Regions from separate parts of the Homo sapiens genome. Here all the other regions are linked to region 1. The links are contacts of gene promoters, found by promoter capture Hi-C in blood cells and fetal thymus (Javierre and others, 2016). All regions are on one chromosome and are shown on one strand. The core of a region is centred on a gene start or on the middle of the fragment in contact, and the rest is flanking DNA. Distances in the headings are between cores, read along the strand shown. Region 1 holds the start of TMEM70 (transmembrane protein 70). Region 2 overlaps RDH10 (retinol dehydrogenase 10). Region 3 overlaps STAU2 (staufen double-stranded RNA binding protein 2). Region 4 has its middle 14 kb from the start of C8orf89. Region 5 overlaps TERF1 (telomeric repeat binding factor 1).

Region 1 (4,214 bases), core at 751-3,250:
CAACAAAAGGAAACCCTGTATCCACTAAAAATACAAAAATTAGCTGGGCATGGTGACGTGGCCTGTAGTCCCAGGTACTTGGGAGGCTGAAGTGAGAGGAACACTTGAGCCTGGGAGGTCAAGGCTGCAGTGAGCTATGATGGTGCCACTGCACTCCAGCCTGGGCGACAGAGCAAGACCCTGTCTCAAAAACAAAATAAAAGGTGGGCACAGTGGCTCACCCTTGTAATTCCAGCACTTTGGGAGGCTGAGGTGGGCGGATAGCTTGAGCCTCAGGAGTTTGAGACCAACCTGGGCTATATGGTGAAACTCCATCTCTACTATTAAAACAAATATTAAAATAAAAATAAACAAAATGTAAGTAGAAGCTAACTTTTTATAAAATAAAGTTATCCATATAGAGGTATTATCATTATCTCCTTCTGAATACTCCCCCCAATAGACAGTATTTGGAGTTGCCAACATGATCATATTCTATTGATTTATTTTTATTTTTATTTTTGAGACAGGGTCTAGCTGTGTCACTCAGTGCAGTGGTGCAATCAGGGCTCACTGCAGCCTCAACCTCTTGGGCTCAAGTGATCCTTCCACCTCAGCCTCCCAAGTAGCTGGGACTACAGGCAGGTGCCACCATGCCCAGCTAATTTAAAAATTTTTTGTAGAGACAGGGTCTCACTTTGTTGCCCAGGCTGGTCTCAAACTCCTGGAATCAAGTGATCCTCTCACCTGGGCCTCCACGTAGTATTGGAATTGCAGGCGTGAGCTCCCGCCCCTGGCCACACATTATTTTAGACTATGAATTTGTTCCTCTCCGGTGCAAATAACATGTCAAATCAAAAACATGTATAGTTCTGCAGTGGTAAACAAAAGTGTGTTTCTATTACTAAGATGCTCATCCTTCAAGACTGAGCTAAATGTGAAGCCAGTCTGAAGACATTCTGAGGCAAAATTAATCATGTTCTTCTTTGTACTTCTGTGGCATTTGTTTGTTCTTTTTTTTGAGACACGGTGTCACTTTGTGGTCCAGGCTGGAGTGCAGTAGTGTGGTCTTGGCTCACTGAAGCCTCGACTTTGGGCTCAAGCAATCCTACCATGTCAGCCTCCTGGGTAGCTGGGACCACAGGCACACACTTACCATGTGTGGCTTATTTTTGTTTTAGGTTTTTTTTTTTTTTTTTTTTTTGTAGAGACGGGGTCTCCCTGTATTGCTCAGGCTGGTCTCAAACTCCTGGCCTCAAGAGATCTTCCTGCCTAAACCTCCCAAAGCGCTGGGATTACAGGTGTAAGCCACCACGGCCAGCCACATTTTGTATATTGCGGTGTCTCAATTGTATTACATTATATTCTAGCCAATTTTCAGGTATTTTCCTCCACTGTTTAAGCACTGTGGATTCCCAGTTTAATCTAGTATTTTGTATCCTCTGCTCCTAGCTCAGTCCTGGCAATAGATTCAGTACCTCTTTAACAAGTAATGAATCAATGTGTATATGGATGTGAATGATTTCCGAAGACAAATCTGGTAACACCTATCAATATTACATGAACAATTCCATTTATTTTCCTCCAACCCGATGATTCAATTAAGTTATCACTCATTTTTGTTCAAATCGTATATTCTTTCTTCTGTGCCAACAGGCTAGAATCATTTTCCGCAAAGGAAACAGTTTTTAGTGATGTCGTCCACGAGAAAAAAAAATATTTAACCCTGGCTTCTGGGCATTGTCATTCTCGTACAGCCCTCTGCCCCTCCACACTGTTATAAAGAAGGTAAAATTCTAGGAAGGAGGAGCCGCTGAGCCAAGGACAGAGCGGCGGGCTCCCAGCTCAGCTGGCGGATAACGCGCGCGGCCGGGAAGGCGGCAGGCGGGCGGCAGGCGGGCGGCAGGCGGGCGGCAGGCGGGCGGCAGGCGGGCGGCAGGCGGGCGGCAGGCGGGCGGCAGATTCTGCGCACGCGCAGGCAGCCCAGCTGCCAGTCAGGCGTCCCGGGCTGGGCATGCGCCACTTGTGCGGCAGTCGGGTGGGAAGCCGTGTCTCGCAGTCGTGGACTCGTGCAGCTGGGGCGTCCGCAGCCGCTCGTCACCCGCGTGATGCTGTTTCTGGCGTTGGGCAGCCCGTGGGCGGTCGAACTGCCTCTCTGCGGAAGGAGGACTGCATTGTGTGCGGCCGCCGCGCTCCGAGGTCCCCGGGCCTCTGTCTCCCGGGCGTCCTCCAGCAGCGGGCCTTCGGGGCCGGTAGCCGGCTGGAGTACGGGGCCTTCGGGAGCCGCGCGCCTTCTCCGGCGTCCGGGTCGAGCGCAGGTAGGGCGTCCGAGGTCTGGTGTCCCAAGTGAGGCGGGGAGGGCGGGCGTCGTGTCGGGCCTGGGGAGCCCCAGCGGCTCTTCGCGACCTCTCCCAGGTGTCCGTGGCTGGAGCGCGGGAGGAGCCCCCTCTGCGGGGCTTGCAGAAGTAGCAGGCCGAGGGCCCCGGGGTCCTCAGCCTCCGCGAGTCCAGGAGAACGGCTGGAAAGTGCTTACTTTTATGGTAGTTCCAAATCCAGAGGGTTTGTGGTGACAACTATATGTAGTTCCTTTTCTGCCCTTGAGTAGAAGCTTAGAAGTGTTAATTTGCAAAAAATTGGATGCAGCACCTGGAAATAGAACCGAAAGAGCCAGGTTAACCTGACTTTGAGCTTGTTCTACTTTTATGAGGTGGCTGTACTTTTAAGAATTACTTTGGTCCCTGGGAAAAGGGGGATGCAGATGTTAATTCTTTTATTTTGATCTGAATAAATTGTCTTCTAATTCTACTCTGTAAAATATCAGGATTGGCAAACCTGGTTAAAACTTGGAAGAAATGCTTAAAATGGAAATTGGAATCTAATTACATTTCAGCATTGAGGAATTAGGCATGCCTTTTACATTTTGAAGTGTATACACTGTGAAACTCATTTTCAGATGTATGGGGAACGCTTCTGTTCCCTTGAAATTTGATGTAGGATTTCAAGTAAATTTTATTTCTTTTTTTTTGGAGGTGAAGTCTCGCTCTGTCACCCTGGTTGGAGTGCAGTGACGTGATCTTGGCTCACTGCAACCTCCGCCTTCCGGGTTCAAGCGATTCTCCTGCCTCAGCCTCCCCAGTAGTTGGGATTACAGGCGCGCTCCACCACACCCCGGCTGATTTTTTTTTTGTATTTTTAGTAGAGACGGGGTTTCACCGTGTTGGCCAGGCTCGTCTTAAACTCCTGACCTCAAATCATCCTCCTGCCTCGGCCTGTCAAAGGGTTGGGATTACAGGCGTGAGCCGCTGTGCCCAGCCAAATTTTATTTCTTGTCAAGAAATAAGAGGACCAGGGGATACACGGTATTTACAAGGTCTTTAGAGAAAGATTTGATCTCTTTAATACTATCATATAAATATTTTAGCAGTATTTGTAAAAGGCCTGGACTTTAAATATAATGTGAGTTTGCGGAGTATTTTACTTAAATTATTTTAGTAAAATTAAATTTTATTTCTTAGAGATGGGGTCTTGCCATGTTGCCCAGGCTGGCCTTAAACTCCTGGGCTCAAGTGATCCACCTCAGCCTCCCCAGTAGCTGGGGCTATAGACGTGTTCCATTACACCAGCTAAATGTATTTATTTTTTGAAAAGGTGTTGCATTTAAATAGAATGGAAATGATGTCGTCATTAACAGTGGAGTAGAAGAAACTGTTACTATTTTTACTTGTTCAAGGTCACACTAGACCTAGAAACCTGAGAGCTGGGATGCTAAGCTAACAAACTCCAGCTCTGCAGTTTTCTACTTGTGACTAGAATTAAGGCAAGCCATTCTGTCAGCCAATTTATTTCTTTAACTCTGTAGATTATTTGGGAGAATTCCTTATGTCACCTCATGTGACAAGTTCTTTTCATTACAATTTTATTTTATTTTTTTGAGACGGAGTCGTGCTCTGTTGCCCAGGTTGGAGTACAGTGGTGTGATCTCGGACCACTGCAATCTCCGCCTCCCAGGTTCAAGCGATTCTTCTGCCTCAGCCTCCGGAGTAGCTGGATTACAGGCGCCAGACACCATGCCCGGCTAATTGTTTGCATTTTTAGTAGAGACGGGGTTTCACCATGTTGGCCAGGCTGGTCTTGAACTCCTGACCTCAAGTGATCCGCCCCCCTCGGCCTCCCAAAGTGCTGGGATTACAGGCATGAGCCACTGCACCTGCATTACAATTTTAAAAATAAACTTA
Region 2 (4,212 bases), core at 370-2,869, 660 kb before region 1:
TTTTAATAGATAAGAGGCATACATTCAAGTTACATTATGTTAAAAGGCACAGCCGTGACATCATAGAAATACTCAATGAGATATTTTTGCTGATCACTCAATGCTGGCCACTGCACTAATGGAGTTGATCCCTTATTGAGTCATTTACGAGAGTCTTAGGCAAATAATACCTCAGCGTGACCTCAGTATTCGGGGTGTGTGGTAGGAATTGGAAAAATAATTGTTGAATCTAAATCGTAACATATTTGAGATGAAAAAACTTTGGACATCTCCTCTTGTCTCACAAATGAGTTTAGTCAAGATCCAGAGAGGTCAAGTAACAAAAGGAAGGTCAAGTAATTGGCAGTCAGGACCAAGTGGGTTTCTGGATTCCAAAGGCCAGTGTATTTTACAGACAAATTGAGTTTTAAGTCACCTTATTTCTGGTATTTCTGCATAGTGAGCTCTAAAATGTAAGGGAACGTTAATATCTGAGTTGCTGCCTTGAGGTAAATTCATCCTATCCTTTAACAGTGGGAAGACAAGTTAATGAAGCATTTATTTTTGCTGAATAACTAATGGTGTCATCATCGAGGTGTTCATTTGAAAAGCCTGGCTCTTTTATTAGCTTCTTGGTTGCAGGGCAACTGTAGGAGTATTCTTGTGCATGTGTGTTAAGTACTAACTGCTGATTCTGTTCAAATGTTGCACTAATCCCTGCGGCCTCACAATAATACATGTTTTTAAAGGGATAGATTTAACATTGGCACAAATTTGACTATTATGACATGTTCTTTAGTCTCTCCTCTATTATCTAAAGAGTGAATGTTTTGTCCCAATCTGATAGAAATTAAGATGAACATTTTGTTAAGTCTGAGAGAGTAGTTCCAGGCTTAAGTATCTTGGGGCTCTATTGCACAATTGGTCAGGGGACCTTTCTGTCTCTACAAACATACCCAACTAGGAAAAAGAGGCTATTATGCAACAACATATGCATGTTAGAATTTCTGTTGTCAGCTGCAACTAGAATATTTAAAGTTGGCATTGCTAGTAAATACAGATTTAGGTTTTACTTCCTAATTAAATATGTAATTTTGTAATGAAGATTTTTTTTTCAAATAATACTTTCTGTGGTCGAAGTAAAATGTCTAAAGTTTGGTCAGTATACTTAATAAGTAGATACCTTTAGAGGTACTTTAGCCATATTTTCCTTACCCAGGTGAGCTGATAGTATGTCACCATTTTACATTTTTTAACACACTAATGATGTATCCTATTAACTTTAACACAGTTCACTATATTTTAAGCACCTTCAGGCATTATAGGAGGTATGGTCCCCTGTGGAAGTCAATGTCTACTCTTTCTTGGATGTTCAAATAAAAGATAAACACTTCAAAACCATTCTTATAAAAGATGGCTTTTTTGAATTGATCACAGGACAATGAATAAAACATTGTGAGGCTACAGGGACTAGCGGAACATTTGAGCAACATCAGCAGTTAGTACTTAACACACACGCACAAGAATACTCCTACAGTTGCCCTGCAAAAGTTTGTGCTTTTGCATCATTTTCCAGGAACAGTGACTGAGTTCTCAGAGAAGAGCGCCACCAGATGTCATTTTAGCCTTGTAAATAAGCAGGAGAGTGTTCCTTTGTGATTCTGATAAAGATAAGTTAACTCTGGCAGCTGCACAGGCAGAAGGGGTGGAACAGTAGAGGAAAGTTGCCCAACCATGTGAAGGGTGCCGTAAGCATTTCCAGTCAGACGTTCTTTGTTCAGTGGAGTCTTGATGGTGTTCTTTTTTATTCAAAGTTTACATCATGCTATTATTTGGAGATTCTGAAAATCCTTAAGCATATGTGAGAAAACTGTGCTGTGCTGGTGGTGTTGACCTTTCTCCCAGCGTTATATGATTTATGGTCCTGTTTGGAAATGAATGTCTACTCTTTCTTGGATTTCAAATAAGAGATAAACATTTCAAAACGATTCTTTTAAAAGATGCCTTTTCTTGATCACAGGACAGTCGTGTATGTGCACAAAAATAATAAGGCCTTCTCCTACGGTGAGAAATTAACTTTGCTTTTCTCTCAGTGCTCAGGAACCTAGAATTGCTTACAAATATGGAAAACACATTCTGTTGTACCTACACCTTTAAAATGTCATCAATCTCAGAATTTCAAAAGTCAGACCTTGCCGGATACCACATTTCTTCACATTGACTTTTGTTCCACTTTAGGCTAATTTGTCCTGACACTGCAGCTGCAGGCTTTGGGCTGCACAGTCTGTCATTAAGAGTACCAAGAATGGTCTGGAGAGTCGGAGCTGTTGGAAGTTAATTTGGCGTAAACTTTACTTTAAAAGATTTCTCGAGCTATGACATGTCACGTCTATGTGCAGTTACTTACATGTCTGTTTAAGAAGTTCTTGCTTATATTACAAATGTGACCTTTACAGTTATCTTTCAAAGTGCCCAGTGCTTTGAAGAGGAACCCTGAGGAGCTAAGGAGATATTAGACTTGTTAAGCATGTTTCATAGGAATGTCAGTGTCCATTTGAATGTCCTTCCCTTTTTTTTTTTAATCACACAGCAACCCTGTCAGCTGGTAGCAGAATATGGTATTGGAATCTTGTGATCAAATTAATCATGGTAGTCAAAGTTCTAGCTCTACATTTAATAGCCAAAGTCAGTTATTAAAAGTTTTCTCTTTTGCAAATAAGAAAATCCCTAGGCCCCTTCCAACTCTAAATTCTGTAAACTTCCTGTTTCATATATTGGTTACTGACTTTGAGACCCCCTAGATCAAGAGTCAACCATATTTTCCTGCTGAAGAACTTGATGTCCTCTTCTGTTTTTTAGACAGTAAAGAGGACACTGCAATAGAGTGCAATTCTCTGACTTACATTTAGCATCTAGCAAACCTTGCCAACCAGCATGGGCACCAGCTCACTCTGGAGACTGAGCACATGTACTGCATTTAGAGACCCCTTTACTAGATGATAACTCCTGATCTATCCATCCTTATACTTGATGTAACACAGCAGTCCTATTGGTCAGCAAATTATCTGTGCTGCCCTCTCAGATCCACCCATGCGTCACAGGCATTAATCTATACCAAAGCCGTTTGGCTGTGTGTTTCAGATTTGCCCTTTATGTTCTTCTGACGACTCTTTGAGACAAAGTTAAAGATTATGAACCTTAGCTTGAACTGACTGGTGTCATGGCAACTAGCACTTCACCTTTTGCTGGTCTCTATCTCATACATGCTACAATATTTGTGCACATTAATAATTCATTGCAAAGTGCCAGATTTCTTTGTGCTGTCAAGCAGTGTCAAGGACAGAATATGCTGTGCTATCTCAAATGTCATCTACCAGACTGTTGAGGGCAAGAGTAATTAGAAAAGAAAACTAGTCAGGTTACTTGGGAAAATTCCTGAAAATGTGATGCTTTCTAGTCACCCAACTATAGCATTTTTCTTGCAAAGTATGGAATAGAATTCATGTTGATCAAAGTTTATTTAATAATGCGCCCCAGACATAAGGCAGGAGTTTGGAGTAATTGCTCGCCTCTATTCAGGCAGCAAAGGAAATGATTAACAGCCTTCGTGCTCAGTCACGTGTACTGGGCTCCAGCGGGAACCTGAGCACAGGCTTAAAAGAAACCCGAGTGGTCCTGATGTGGGTGCTCCTACCCCAAGCCTGCCTTTGCCCGACACAGAGCAGAGCTGAGTAAATGTTTGACACCAGCTTTAGAAACAAGCCGTCTGGGATCTCAGGCTGATTAGCGGCCCTGGATAGCTTTCTTCACCTCTCAGTTCCCTCCGCGCAGCTCTTTGGTGGTTGTTGACGCTGTGAGTGATTGTTATAGTAATTGCAGTGTTGCCTGTAATTAATGAGCCTTTCAAATAAAAAATATGGATCTTTGTCTTAAAAATGTGGAAAATGCAAAGATACATTGGATTTAATTTATACAGAAGGCCAGATTTGTCCTTGATTAGGCAAAGAAATCACATGTTTTAAACTGAACATTGACTCACCTGTGCTTTACAGAACAAAACAAATAATCTCCCTCTCAAAAGAAAGCTTCATATTACAACCAGCCAGCATGTGTCGTACTTTACTCTTTAAAATTGGAATATATTTCTCCAAATGTTTATAGCCCACAGTTGGAAAAGATTTTTTTCACATAGCCATATCTGGATTGTTTGGTTTCTCTTTCTCTCTCCCTTCC
Region 3 (4,548 bases), core at 1,657-4,156, 510 kb before region 1:
CTTCTTTTAAAAAAAAATTCACTAACTTGAATATTTTCTCTAACTGCAAAAAATGTTGGTTTATTCTGAACCCATTCAAAGATATGAGAAAGTTACCTCTTGTTACATGAATCTGATCCTTGTCAGGTATATTCTCAAAAGAGGAAATCAGCATTTTATCCAGATATATTTGGAACCAAAGTGGTATAAACCAAGCTCTGAATACAGAAAGAACAGGAAGAAGTTGATGCTGGTCAGTGGGTGGGTGGCACTGGAGAAGGGCAGTAACACTTGACATTAATTATACATTGCCCCATCCGATCCTAGTCAGGGTATTTGCCAAGAAGTTCTTACATTCCTGTGGCCAGGGAACAGGGCCACACTAGAGTTTCGTGGAAAACAACAGTGCATTATAAAACATTTAAATCATTCCAACTCCCTACAATGACTAAATGATTTGACAAAATTATTTTATCGAATGGAAGCCTACTTTCATGAAAGTAATCACATTTTCATCTTAAGGATTTTTTTCAAAAAGAACTTTCCTATATTCATTTTTCTTTAACAACTAACGGCTGCTGTTTTGGTGTTAACTTGCCAAGGTTTTTATATTACTAAGGTAAATGCAGAGACATAATTTGAAAAAGAATAATAACATTTAAAGGGTGCTCCTACTTTGAGAGTGTATAGTCACAGAAGAGAAGCCAAGAAACCAAGCTCCTCTTCTAACATGAAGAATAAATTCCTAGTGAATACAGATAATATGAACTATTTCAGATAGGCTTTATTATTAGATTTGCACCAAAAAAGCCATATTTTTCCAGTCTATAGAAATAGCCTTTGAGAATACATTTTCCATATAGAAATCAGAAACCCCTAAATACATTCTGAGAGCCATCTTGAATGTCCAAACTTTTTAAAAGGGGAACTTTAAATAGTTGGAAGCACTCTGGTTTCTGGAGCTGCATTTTTACCCTTCACCCTGTCAGGAAGGGGGGCCTCCTGTGTGAAGTCGCCTCTCGTTAAGGTGATCCCCTCCGCGAAGACCTCAACCAGCAGCCCTACCATGTGCAGAGCTCCCACTGAAATCAAAACCCAACCTCAAGCTCACGCAGCTCCGCCTCCACATATCGTCACATCCCACACATGCTGCTGTCATCACACCCACGCTGTTGTCACAACACCCAACGGGCTGTTACTAAGGGCCCTGGTATGCTGCTGAATATATGCATTCAATAGGAATTTTCAAAACATATTTCAGGAATACTTGTCCTTGGTTCCGCATCATCTGCTCAATGCAGCCACTGTCTCTGGAAGGAGCAACTCCTATCGGGCACGGCTCCTTTGACTCTTGGGGCCTCCTGCGTCCCCAGCCCCAGCCGTGAATACACAATGGAGATCAGAGGAATGCTGCAGGAGGAATCTAGGGCAGTGCTTAATTGGATCATTCCCCTTCTATTAGACCATTCATATAGGTCAGCACATCTCACTTCACCCTCTCCCTCTACTCAGCAGTGGCTGCCAACCCAAGCTCAGATGCAATTCAAGTTATGTATCTGTATCTTCTTAAGATTCCCAGGGTCTTAGCCTGAGGTACCTGACAAGTTATGTTTCTGGCAAAACATTCCTTCTAGCCTCTTCGATGCTACGGAATAGCTGTGGTCTCTATATTTAATCAAACAAAAACTAGAAGAAAATGGGGGCAGGAGGGCATTGTTGTTGTTTTGACTAAAGTGGTTTGGGCAAGGTCATCTGTTCCAGGTTAGAAGAGAGACATTATTTGACAGACAGCACAAATTACTGATTCAATACTTGGGGGCTCTTAATTCTTGTTAAACATGTATGGTGAATTACTACAGGGGACGAGAGAGGTTTTGAACAAGTTTAAACACATTTGACGACATCTAGCTTAAAAACTCCTTGTCACCTTTCCTGGAAATTGATGTGAGTACCCAACAGAGGTAAAGGATGGCTAAATAATTATTACATTGGCCTTTTGAGGAAAATGCCTAAGTGGCAGGGATGACTTGTTCTCTGCTAAGGCTCTGAGTACTCTTAGATCCATGGTCTTCTAGACTTGAGCTGTCTTGTGCATTCTCTAGTTGCTTTGGAGGTCTCCATTTTGGTGACAACAGAGGCATTATCAGTTGCTTCTGGAATGACAGCCATAATTATTTAGTGCCAGACACTATACACAGCTTTATTTTTATATATATTCTTCAAACCAAAGTCACAAGGAGCTCTAAGATTGTCCTAACATTATCTTATGGTAGGTTGGTCACATCCTTCAGATTTCTCATACGCTTCTGAGAGCAATTCATTCCAATGGTTTAGCCATTGACACAAGAACCAGCTTAAGACCGAGAGCCTGAACTGTAGCTCTGAGCTTCTGTTTCTGGGGTGTGCCTGCTCCTCTCCTCTCTCCACACTATTTTCCTTCTTTCAGTTGAGTTCACCCAACATACATTGGGTAACTGTGTGCCAAGTTCTTTCGAATGTATTGGGTAGTGGGTGGTGATACAGGCTGTAGAGTCAGACCAACCTGGCCTGAAACCTGGCTAGGAGACTTAGGGGAAGTTACTTTACCCCTCTAAGTCTCAGTTTCTTCAATGACTATCCTCAAATGAGACAATGCACACAAAGTATTTAGCAGAGTGCTTGGCACACAGGAGATGTGCAGGACATAATATCTCTCACTATTACACAGATATACACGACAGATCAAAAACAGCTCATGAGCTAGTGGGAAGGAAAACACTACAGGCCATCTGAGTATTTCCTAGTAAGGGCTAGTTTCAAAGGAGTAATAATTATTCCAGCCTTAGTAAGTGGGTAGGTGGAAGATGGGGCTCAGAGGAGTAATACAGGAAATGATACCTGAGCTATGCTTTATTGGATAAGCAGTGGAAGCCATCCTCTGTGGTTTGAAAGACAATCATAAACCTTGTAGAGTCATAAGTAACATGGCAAATATGAGGTGACTTTGGAAGCTCCACACCATTTCTTCTATGTATTAAATGCACATGCTAAGGAGAGGATACCACTTGCATCATGTCATGCTGGTGGCAGCAAAGAGGCCAACAGAGAGCACAAGCACAAGCACGGCAGCAAGTAGGAGGAGGATGGAGACTGTGTAGGAGGGAGAGAATGAGGTGGGGAGAAGCAGAAGCCAGGCAGGAACGCAACCGCGGGCTTTCACCAATCTGTGGAATGTAGGGGAACTCAAACTCAGAGCCTGCAGGGATGGAACTGGACAGTCCCCAAGAACTCTGCACTTGGGACTCTGCCCAGCCGTGTGGCCACACCCAGGGCCCCAGCTGTCTGGTTCTCAGCAGCTCTGCCCAGGCTCTTCACCTTTGTCAATCCGATCTTCCTGCTTCTTTGTCTGCTTTGATTACCTAAGCCATGCCTGCCACATCACCCCATCCCTCCATCTTTTCTCTTATTATCCCCCATATAGAATGACTTTTTGTTCACATCTATCGGTAAAAAAATTTCACCTATTTTATTTTTATTTACTTATTTATTTGTTTTTTTGAGGCAGAGTTTTGCTTTTGTCACCTAGGATGGACTGCAGTGGCATGATCTTGGATCATTGCAACCTCCACCTCCTGGGTTCAAGCAATTCTCCTGCCTCAGCTTCCTGAGTAGCTGGGATTACAGGTGCCTGCCACCACGCCCAGCTAATTTTTGTATTTTTTTTTCTTTTTTTTTAATAGAGACAGGGTTTTCCCATGTTGGCATGTTGGCCAGGCTGGTCTTGAACTCCTGACCTCAGAAGATCCACCCGCCTTGGCCTCCCAAAGTGCTGGGATTAAAGGTGTGAGCCACCACACCTGGCCTATTTTATTTTTTTGACAGGGTCTCGCTCTGTCACCCAGGCTGGACTTTAGTGGCATGATCATGGCCCACTGCAACCTCCCCCTCCTGAGCTCAAGCTGTTCTCCCACCTCAGCCCTCCAAGTAGCTGGGACCACAGACATGCACTACTATGCCCAGCTAATTTTTGTATTTTTTTTATAGAGAAAGGGTCTCCCCATGTTGCCCAGGATGGTCTTGAACTCCTGGGCTCAAGCAATCCTCCTGCCAGGCCTCCCAAGGTGCTGGGATTACAGGCGCGAACCACCACAGCTGGCCAATAAAACATTATAAACCTAAAAAATATGTAAAAGATTTTCCTTATTCCTGCTGCATCTATGCACTTCAAGCCTTGCCTATATTGTGATATGCCAAAATATGTGTTAGTCAAATTTAATGTCTTTATGATATCTAGTATTAAAAAAAGACAACTTCTTTGAGTGCCTTTAGAGTATACACAGCAAAGACTATGGGATTCCAGAGGGTGTAGCCAATGATGGTGAAGAAACCTTCTCTGAACATGTTTTTGCAGAATAATGACTTCTTTGAAGGCAGTCATATGAAGAAGCAATGGGAAAGCCCCTTCTTCTTCCTTCCAGGATGCCTGCCTGCCGGCCTCTCCACTTGCACTTCCTGAGGCACAGTGGAGAAGCAGAATCTGGTAGACTTGGGTTTGACCCCTGGCTGTGTGATCATGGACAAATTATTTAG
Region 4 (4,370 bases), core at 680-3,179, 700 kb before region 1:
ACCAGATGCCAGAGCCATACTTCTTGTACAGCTTGCAGAGACATGAGTGAAATAAACCACTTTCCTTTATAAATTACCCAGCCTCAGGTATTCTTTTATAGCAACACTAAACATACTAAGACAGCACCTAACTAAATGCCTAGTGTATTAGTCCATTTTCATGCTGCTGATAAAGACACCCGAGACTGTGCAATTTACACAAGAAAGAGGATTATTGGGCTTACAATTCCATGTGGCTGGAGAGGCCTCACAATCATGAGGGGGGAAACCACTCCCATGATTCAATTATCTCCCACCAGGTCCCTCCCACAACATGTGGGAATTATAGGAGAACAATTCAAGATGAGATTTGGACGGGGACACAGAGCCAAACCATATAACCTAGTACACTGCTTTAATTCTCAAGCAAGAATCTTCATTTCAGACCACAGTAAGGGATCCTTCTTAAGCACAGAAAGAAATGATAGCTGCAATTATTATCATAATCATCATGATTATTATTATAGGCCAAGAATCGACTAATGGCTGGGGTAGGGGATGTATAGCTTGACTCAATGCCTCTTCCTCTTTCCTTTCAGGGTGAAACTACAAACTTAGATCTCCACCTTTTCCCCCTTTACCACTGGCAATTCAATTAATTCCTAATGAGAGAAGTATATCTTTCTTGCAGATTCAGAAACATTTTCTAAGTTCCTTTTTCCTTTCTCCTCTCTCCCACCTTTGACCAGTTAACTCAGGAAAATTGTCCATTTCTATGCCCATTTGTGAAAGGACCTAATCAGGGCTTAATATACTTATTATTGTAATCATAATAAAATTAAAACATCTAACATTCCTTGAATACTCACTGTACCAAGCACTATGACATGCACATTATATCAGCCCACTTAATTCTTTTTTTTAATATATATATATTTTTATTATACTTTAAGTTCTAGGGTACATGTGCACAACGTGCAGGTTTATTATATATGTATACATGTGCCGTGTTGGTGTGCTGCACCCATTAACTCGTCATTTACATTAGGTATATCTCCTAATGCTATCCCTCCCCCCTCTCCCCACCCCATGATAGGCCCCGGTGTGTGATGTTCCCCTTCCTGTGTCCAAGTGTTCTCATTGTTCAATTCCCACCTATGAGTGAGAACATGCAGTGTTTGGTTTTTTGTCCTTGCGATAGTTTGCTGAGAATGATGGTTTCCAGCTTCATCCATGTCCCTACAAAAGACATGAACTCATCATTTTTTTATGGCTGCTTAATTTTTGTAAAGTGTAAATATTGAGCCTACCTTGGAGGATGGCACTATTATTATTATCATCTCTATTTTACATTGAGAAACCTGGGGTTTAGATAACAAAATCCAATAGCTACTAACTGTTTGAAATGGAAATCTAACTCAGGCCACCTTCCCAACTGCAAAGATGATGCCCTTAATCTCTCTCCTATAATGCCAAGGAAAAAGGTAAGTAAAATCAGAGAAATTAGGAGCCTCAAAAGTTTTCAGAATTTTGTTCAAAACTTCTGATGGCAGCGGCAACCGGCCTGGAGTGGTCATTGCCATGATGCCAGTTGCAGTGGGGGAGGTGCAGCCAGGGCTGCATGCTCCATGGAGCCAGTGGGAGCGAGGAACAGGCAGAAGCCGTGCCCGTTTCTGAGTGGCGGGGCAAAAGTCCCATGTTCCTGGGCACAGCTGCAGCCACCCAGCCATGGCTGCAGACCTGGGCATCCCTGCACTCTCAGGGCCCCGGAAACCACTTGCCTCTGTAGGCTTCAAAGTGCTTGCTTCCCCTGCCTGGCCTCTCCCAGCTCCCAGTGCCCACTCTGATTTTAGAGCAAAGTTATGGCCGAGCCCAGGCACTGTCACAACCTGGCTGGGCGTGTGCTCGCTCAGGGAGGCACTAACATGCCAGCCGCCTGCCACCTTGGCCCTCTCCAGACTGTGGTCACTGATGAGCACAGGAGGGAGGCCGAGGTGGGGCTGAGGGCAGCTCAGTTTGGCCCTGCAGGAACCCCTCTGCATGAATAGCCTGGGCGCCATGGGCACCATGGACGGCAGGTTGATGGCGGCAGGAGTCAGGCTCCTAGGTGGAAAGAGGCGGTCCCCAGTGAAGCCTGAAGCCTGGGGCCCAGGCTGTCAGTTCCACGTGAAGTCTGCGCCCAGAGTGAGAACTTGTGGTGCTTTTTTGTTGGTGATGCCAGTTTTTTTTTTTTTTTCTGAAAGATACTTCAAACTTCAAAATTTAAATGGGAGATTGATACATAAGATGGTCTTCTTAATATCCAACTGTTTATCTTGCTTAACCTTGGTAACTATATGGAATGTATTCTAATTATTTTATTTCTTAGTTAAGTATATTTTATGACTCTTAAAACTACTAAATAGAACTAAGAAATACCATTAAAAGGTCAAAATGTTATATTTTGTAATGATATATCATCCAAATTATGCTTTTCTGAAACGTTCATCTAATTTTTTTTACCACCTTGAGATTACTGTTAACTATTTTCTCTTTTATATTATATTGCTTGTCAAAAGGACTTTTTTTGGGTGAGGGGAGACAGGTGCTTACCTGACACTATATTATTTAGTATACAGCAGACCATATTTCATCTTTTTTTTTTGAGATGGAATCTTGCTCTGTCGCCCAGGCTGGAGTGCAGTGGCGCGATCTCAGCTCACTGTAAGCTCCGCCTCCCGGGTTCACGCCCTTCTCCTGACAGCCTCCCGAGTAGCTGGGACTACAGGCACCCGCCACCACGCCTGGCTAATTTTTTGTATTTTTAGTAGAGATGGGGTTTCACCGTGTTAGCCAGGATGGTCTCAACCTCCTGACCTTGTGATCCGCCCACCTCGGCCTCCCAAAGTGCTGGGATTACAAGTGTGAGCCACCGCACCTGGCCATTTCATCTTTTTTAGGTTATCTTTTGTTTGCTTTAAAAAATGCATTGGTACAGAGAGAAATGTAACATTTGTTTCCCTATCACCCTAACATTATGCTAAATATATGCTAATATTGCTTAAATATTAGCAAAATTTAAGAATTTGCATGTTTGCGTCCTATGTTTTTAAGGGAAAGACAGCAAATATTTTTCCATCCCCCATCATGCTCCTTTTCCGGAAGCAACCACTCTCATAAATTTGGTGTGAATCCTTGAAGTCTGCTTTTATATTTTAACTGCACGTAGGTATAGGAGAAAAGATACTGAGTTGTTTGATATCTTATTAGTTTTACATAAATAAGTTACACATATCTTCTGCAACTTTTTTTCACTCGAGATTGAGTCATTGAGATTGAGTCACATGAGACTGAGATTGAGTGTACATATAGATTTAGTTTATTGATTTTAGCTGCTGTCTATATCATATCGATTATATGAATATGTAATTATCCATCCTCCTACAAGTGGTAAGGTGAATTGTTTAGAATTTTCTAATATTACAAACAATATGACAGTTAATATCTTTGTAAATGACTCCTAATACACATGTGTGTTTCTGCAGGGCAATATACCTAAAATTGGATTCACTGGTTTGTAAGATGTGCAGATATTTAACTTTACTTACTACTAATAGATTATTCTCCATGTACTAATCTTAATTTATACTGAATAAGTGGTTATCTCTACCTGTATTCCCATAATTTTTGTTTACCCACATTCTTATGTACACTTGTAATAGTTCTTTTTTTTTTTTTTTTTTTTTTTTTGAGACATAGTCTTGCTGTCACCCAGGCTGGAATGCAGTGGCTTGATCTCAGCTCACTGCAACCCCTGGCTCCCAGGTTCAAGCAACTCTCCTGTCTCAGCCTCCGGAGTAGCTGGAATTACAGACATGCCCCACCACACCTGGCTAACATTTTGTATTTTTAGTACAGACAGGTTTTCACCATGTCGGCCAGGCGGGTCTCAAACTCCTGACCTCAAGTGATCAACCCACCTCAGCCTCCCAAAGTGCTGGAATTACAGGCATGAGCCACTGTACCCTGCCAATTAAGCTATTTTAATTTTTGCTAATCTTTGGATGTTAAATGGTACCTTGTTAATTTTTACTTCCCTAAAAGTGTTTATTTGCCACTTAGGTTTCCTCTTCTGTGAAATGCCTATTTCTATGCTTTCCCCATTTTTGTACAGGGTTTTGTTTTATTCTTATTTGTAGTGCTTTATATTTGGTGAGTACTAATTCTTTATATGTTATATATGTTGCAAATATCTCTCCCAATATTAGTTTATTTTTAACCTGTTTATGTCTTTTAGTTTATCAGAAACTTTAAATTTTGATATAGTCAAATTTGTCTATTTTTCTATAATATCATATTGAAGAAATCCTCTTTCCTACTCTAAGACAAAAAGATAAAGCCAAGATCCCCTA
Region 5 (4,040 bases), core at 253-2,752, 950 kb before region 1:
AACAGAAAAACTACGCAAGTCACATATGTGATTTAAAATTTTCTAATAAGCTGGACGCAGTAGCTTACACCTATAATTCCAGCACTTTGGGAGGCTGAGGTGGGAGGATCTCTTGAGCTCAGGCATTCGAGACCAGCCTGGGCAACATGGAGAGATCCTCATCTCTCCAAAAAGAAGGAATAATAAATAATGAAAAATAAATACAATTTTCCAGTAGTCATATTAAAAAAGTAAAAAGAGGCCCGGTGCAATAGCTCATGCCTATAATACCAGTACTTTAGGAGGCTGAAGCAGGAGGATCATTTGAGGTCAGTAGTTCAAGAGCAGCCTGGGCAACACAGCGAGACCCTGTTCTCTACAAAAAAATTAAAAATTAGCCAGGTGTGGTGGCGCAATACTGTAGTCCTGAGGTGGGAAGATTGCTTGAGCCTAGGAAGTCAAGGCTGCAGTGAGCTATAACGCTGCCACTGCGCTCCAGCCTAAGCAACAGAGAGAGACGCTGTCTCTAAAAATAAATAAATAATAAAATAGTATAGTATTTGCATATAACATATGTACATCCTCCTGTATAGTTTAAATCATCTCTAGATTATGTATAATAACTTACACAATGTAAATAGTTGTACTGTTTAGGAACAAAAAGATACAAAAAATCTGTATGTGTTCAGTACAGGTGTAATTTTTTCCCCCATACATTTTGTGGAACAAATATATGCATTTCTTTTGGGTTTATATGAAGAGTAGAACTGATTAGTCATAAGATGTGTACATACTCAGTTTTAGTAGATATTGCCAAACTGTTCTCCAAAGTAGTTATGTCAGTTCCTCCAGTAGTGTGAAAGAATTCTAGTTGCTCCACACACCTTGTATCTGGGTTTTCATTTTAGCCATTCAGGCAAATATGTAGTGCTATCCTGTTGGATTTTAATTTGTTTCCCTGATGAATAATCAGATTGAGCACCTTCCCTTGATAATGTTAGTAGATAGAGTTGGAGAGTGACTACCTTAATCCAGTAAGGAACCTGGGCCTAGTAGAGAGTAGGTTGGGCAGTTTTGGCAAGGCTTTGTCTATCTCTAATTTAACCCTGTACCTGGGGTATAACCCTCCAGAAATTTCAGCCAATAGCCTGATATGTCTGTTGGGTTTTCTACCCTTAATATTTTCTCCATAGCACTATGAGACTACTGAAAATTCTACTCTGCTTATACCTCCCAGAAGAGGAAAACTTAATGGCCAGGAAATATTAAGAGGTTAAGATAAGTACTTGACCTCACTAGTATTAATGTTGCCTCATTAGGGCAATATTAAGTACTATATTGAAATACCACTTTCCATGCCTCAGACTGGCATCAATTAAAATGTCTTAGAATATCAACAGTTGTCTCAACAAATTGAGAAATGATTGTACTGCCTGCCATAACTTCCTTTCAAGACTGTAAATTGGTACTTCTTTGGGAGATCATTTTAGCAAAATATTTTAAGCATGCATTCCAGCAATTCCACTTCTAGACAATACCTTAGAATAGCTGGTTTCACTTTTAACTGCATATTTTAAAAGCCATGAAGTTTAAAGGCAACAAAAAACCAAGGCCTTCCTGAGACAGTTGCTCTGGGATTGAGCCTAAGAATTTTTTTAAAGTTCTACTTTTTTTATTGTGCAGCCAGCATTGAAAAAGCTACTGTCCAAGAAAAACACATACAATGCACAGAAGATAATGTAGAAAAATGTTGAAGAGCGATACAATAATTGCAAGTAGCCTAAATCCCTCAATAGGCATGAAGAATGGATGAATAAGTGATGTTTTTGATCAGTGTAGTACTTTACAATGGCAAAAATAACTACTTCTAGGAATATCAAATCAGCATGGATAAATGTTGTAAACATAGAGTTGAGTGAAATATAGCAAGTTTCAAAAGAATACGCATCGTACAACACTATTTGTAGAGTTAAAACCATGCTAAGCAATGCTACATATTTGTGGATACATACATATGTAGTGCAAGTAAAGGAATTCCTGGGAATGGTGAATTCTAAATTCAGGGTAATGGTTACAGTTAGGAGAGGAAAGGGAATACAATCAGATTATGGTAGTAAACAGGGATTTTAACCATATTGATTATGTTTTATTTCTGAAACTGGGTAATGGATACTCTGGTTTATAATACATATCTTTTTGAATCTGTCTAAAATGTAAAATATTTTTTAAAATGAGGAGAGGCCAGAAGAAGTCAGAAAAAGGTACATTGGCATGCCATTTAAAACTTAATTTTAAAAATATCTGTGTCTCTTGAGTTTGTAAAGTGATTTCTTTTCAATTAAATAATATGTGACAAAAATCGTTGTATCTGTAACTTTGTGTGATTTATGTTAATATATTTCTTCTGTTTTCTTTAGCCTTTCAAAAGCAAATTGCTTATGATAATCTCTCAGAAAGATACATTTCATTCCTTTTTTCAACACTTCAGCTACAACCACATGATGGAGAAAATTAAGAGTTATGTGAATTATGTGCTAAGTGAAAAATCATCAACCTTTCTAATGAAGGTATACATATTATTCAAGAGTGACTAATAATAGACTTAAAGGAAACGTTATAATAAAGGAGAATACTTGAAATAGAAATCCTTTAAAATTAATCAGAATTTTTCATTGTGGTTTTGTAGAAAGGTGTGGTAAAATGTTACATTTTGTGGACCTAATTAAAAGATTTATGAGTGATATGTACTTTTGTAACTTTTCAAAATTAGTTTGGGGAAATTTTCAAAAGAAAAAGTTGAAGGGAAAACTTAGAATGAATTAAAAATAAGAAATAGGCAAAAGCAAATATTTTAATTTAAGTAAATTTTAAAGACTTTTTAAACATATTTTTGGGGAAAAATAGAATTGTATTAAAGAAGGGCCTTTTAAAATTTTTCTAGGCCAGGCGCGGTGGCTCATGCCTGTAATGCTAGCACTTTGGGAGGCCAAGTTTCAGGAGTTCGAGACTAGCCTGGGCGACATGGTGAAACCCCTTATCTACAAAAAAATACAAAAAAATTAGCTGGGCCGGGCGCGGTGGCTCACGCCTGTAATCCCAGCACTTTGGGAGGCCAAGGCAGGTGAATCACACGGTCAGGCGGATCACACGGTCAGGTGGCTAACATGGTGAAACCCCGTCTCTCCTAAGAAAATACAAAAAAATTAGCTGGGTGTGGTGGCAGGTGCCTGTAGTCCCAGCTACTCAGGAGGCTGAAGCAGGAGAATGGCATGAACCTGGGAGGCAGAGCTTGCAGTGAGCTGAGATTGCGCCACTGCACTCCAGCCTGGGCGACAGTGAGACTCTGTCTCAAAAAAAAAAAAAAAAAAAAAAAAAAGCTGGGCATGGTGGCATACACCTGTAGTCCCAGCTACTTTGGGGAGTTGAGGCTGTAGTGAGCTGAGGTTGAGCCACTGCACTCCAGCCTGGGTGACAAAATGAGACCCTGTCTCAAAAAAAAGACATTTCTGGTCAGGCGCAGTGGCTCATGCCTGTAATCCCAGCACTTTGGGAGGCCGAAATGGGTAGATCGCTTGATCCCAGGAGTTTGAGACCAGCCTGGGCAACATGGCAAAACCCCATCTCTACCGAAAAAATAGAAAAATTTAGCCAGACATAGTGGCACACGCCTGTAGTCCCAGCTACTTGTGGCGGCTGAGGCAGAAGGATTGCTTGAACCCAGGAGGTTGAGGCTGTAGTGAGCTGAGATTGAACCACTGCACTCCAGCCTGGGTGACAAAGTGAGACTTGTCTCAAAAAAAAACACATTTCTAGTCAGGCGCGGTAACTCACGCCTGTAATCCCAGCACTTTGGGAAGCCAAAATGGGTGGATCGCTTGAGCCCAGGAGTTTGAGACCAGCCTGGGCAACATGGCAAAACCCCGTCTCTACAAAAAAATTACAAAAATTTAGCCAGGCATAGTGGCGCATGCCTGTAGTCCCAGCTACCTAGGAGGCTGATGTGGGAAATCACCTGAGCCCAGGAGGTTGAGGCTGCAGTGAGCTGTGATTGTGCCACTGCA

The links. The method cuts DNA at HindIII sites, captures the fragments that hold promoters and counts their contacts. A CHiCAGO score of 5 or more calls a contact.
Region 2: a contact is called between a fragment that was not itself captured here and the fragment with the promoter of TMEM70 in region 1, in 11 of 17 cell types (total CD4 T cells, neutrophils, monocytes and 8 more). The highest score is 11.8, in total CD4 T cells.
Region 3: a fragment that was not itself captured here is called in contact with the fragment with the promoter of TMEM70 in region 1 in 1 of 17 cell types (M2 macrophages); the score reaches 5.5 in M2 macrophages.
Region 4: a fragment that was not itself captured here is called in contact with the fragment with the promoter of TMEM70 in region 1 in 1 of 17 cell types (naive CD8 T cells); the score reaches 5.0 in naive CD8 T cells.
Region 5: a contact is called between a fragment that was not itself captured here and the fragment with the promoter of TMEM70 in region 1, in 1 of 17 cell types (total CD4 T cells). The highest score is 6.9, in total CD4 T cells.

Annotation. Positions count from the first base shown.
Region 1 is chr8:73,974,195-73,978,408 of GRCh38, forward strand. It overlaps TMEM70 (transmembrane protein 70), which reads left to right and starts at 2,001. Exons shown (of 3, transcript NM_017866.6): 1 at 2,001-2,297. The coding sequence starts at 2,088. RefSeq lists silencers at 1,790-1,869, 1,919-2,134, 2,300-2,349. The HindIII fragment of the contact is 7,182 bases long and covers 1-2,585 here.
Region 2 is chr8:73,310,918-73,315,129 of GRCh38, forward strand. The region is part of intron 2 of RDH10 (retinol dehydrogenase 10); the gene reads left to right. It overlaps RDH10-AS1 (RDH10 antisense RNA 1), which reads right to left. Exons shown (of 6, transcript NR_125388.1): 6 at 1-2,480. Among named protein-coding and RNA genes, the nearest start is that of RDH10, 18 kb to the left of the region's middle. The HindIII fragment of the contact is 4,885 bases long and covers 1-4,062 here.
Region 3 is chr8:73,458,581-73,463,128 of GRCh38, forward strand. The region is part of intron 13 of STAU2 (staufen double-stranded RNA binding protein 2); the gene reads right to left. Among named protein-coding and RNA genes, the nearest start is that of STAU2-AS1, 41 kb to the left of the region's middle. The HindIII fragment of the contact is 5,817 bases long and covers 1-4,548 here.
Region 4 is chr8:73,271,549-73,275,918 of GRCh38, forward strand. It overlaps a transcript of C8orf89 not described here. Among named protein-coding and RNA genes, the nearest start is that of C8orf89, 14 kb to the left of the region's middle. The HindIII fragment of the contact is 5,103 bases long and covers 1-4,370 here.
Region 5 is chr8:73,022,426-73,026,465 of GRCh38, forward strand. It overlaps TERF1 (telomeric repeat binding factor 1), which reads left to right. Exons shown (of 10, transcript NM_017489.3): 5 at 2,397-2,546. Among named protein-coding and RNA genes, the nearest start is that of TERF1, 16 kb to the left of the region's middle. The HindIII fragment of the contact is 7,360 bases long and covers 1-4,040 here.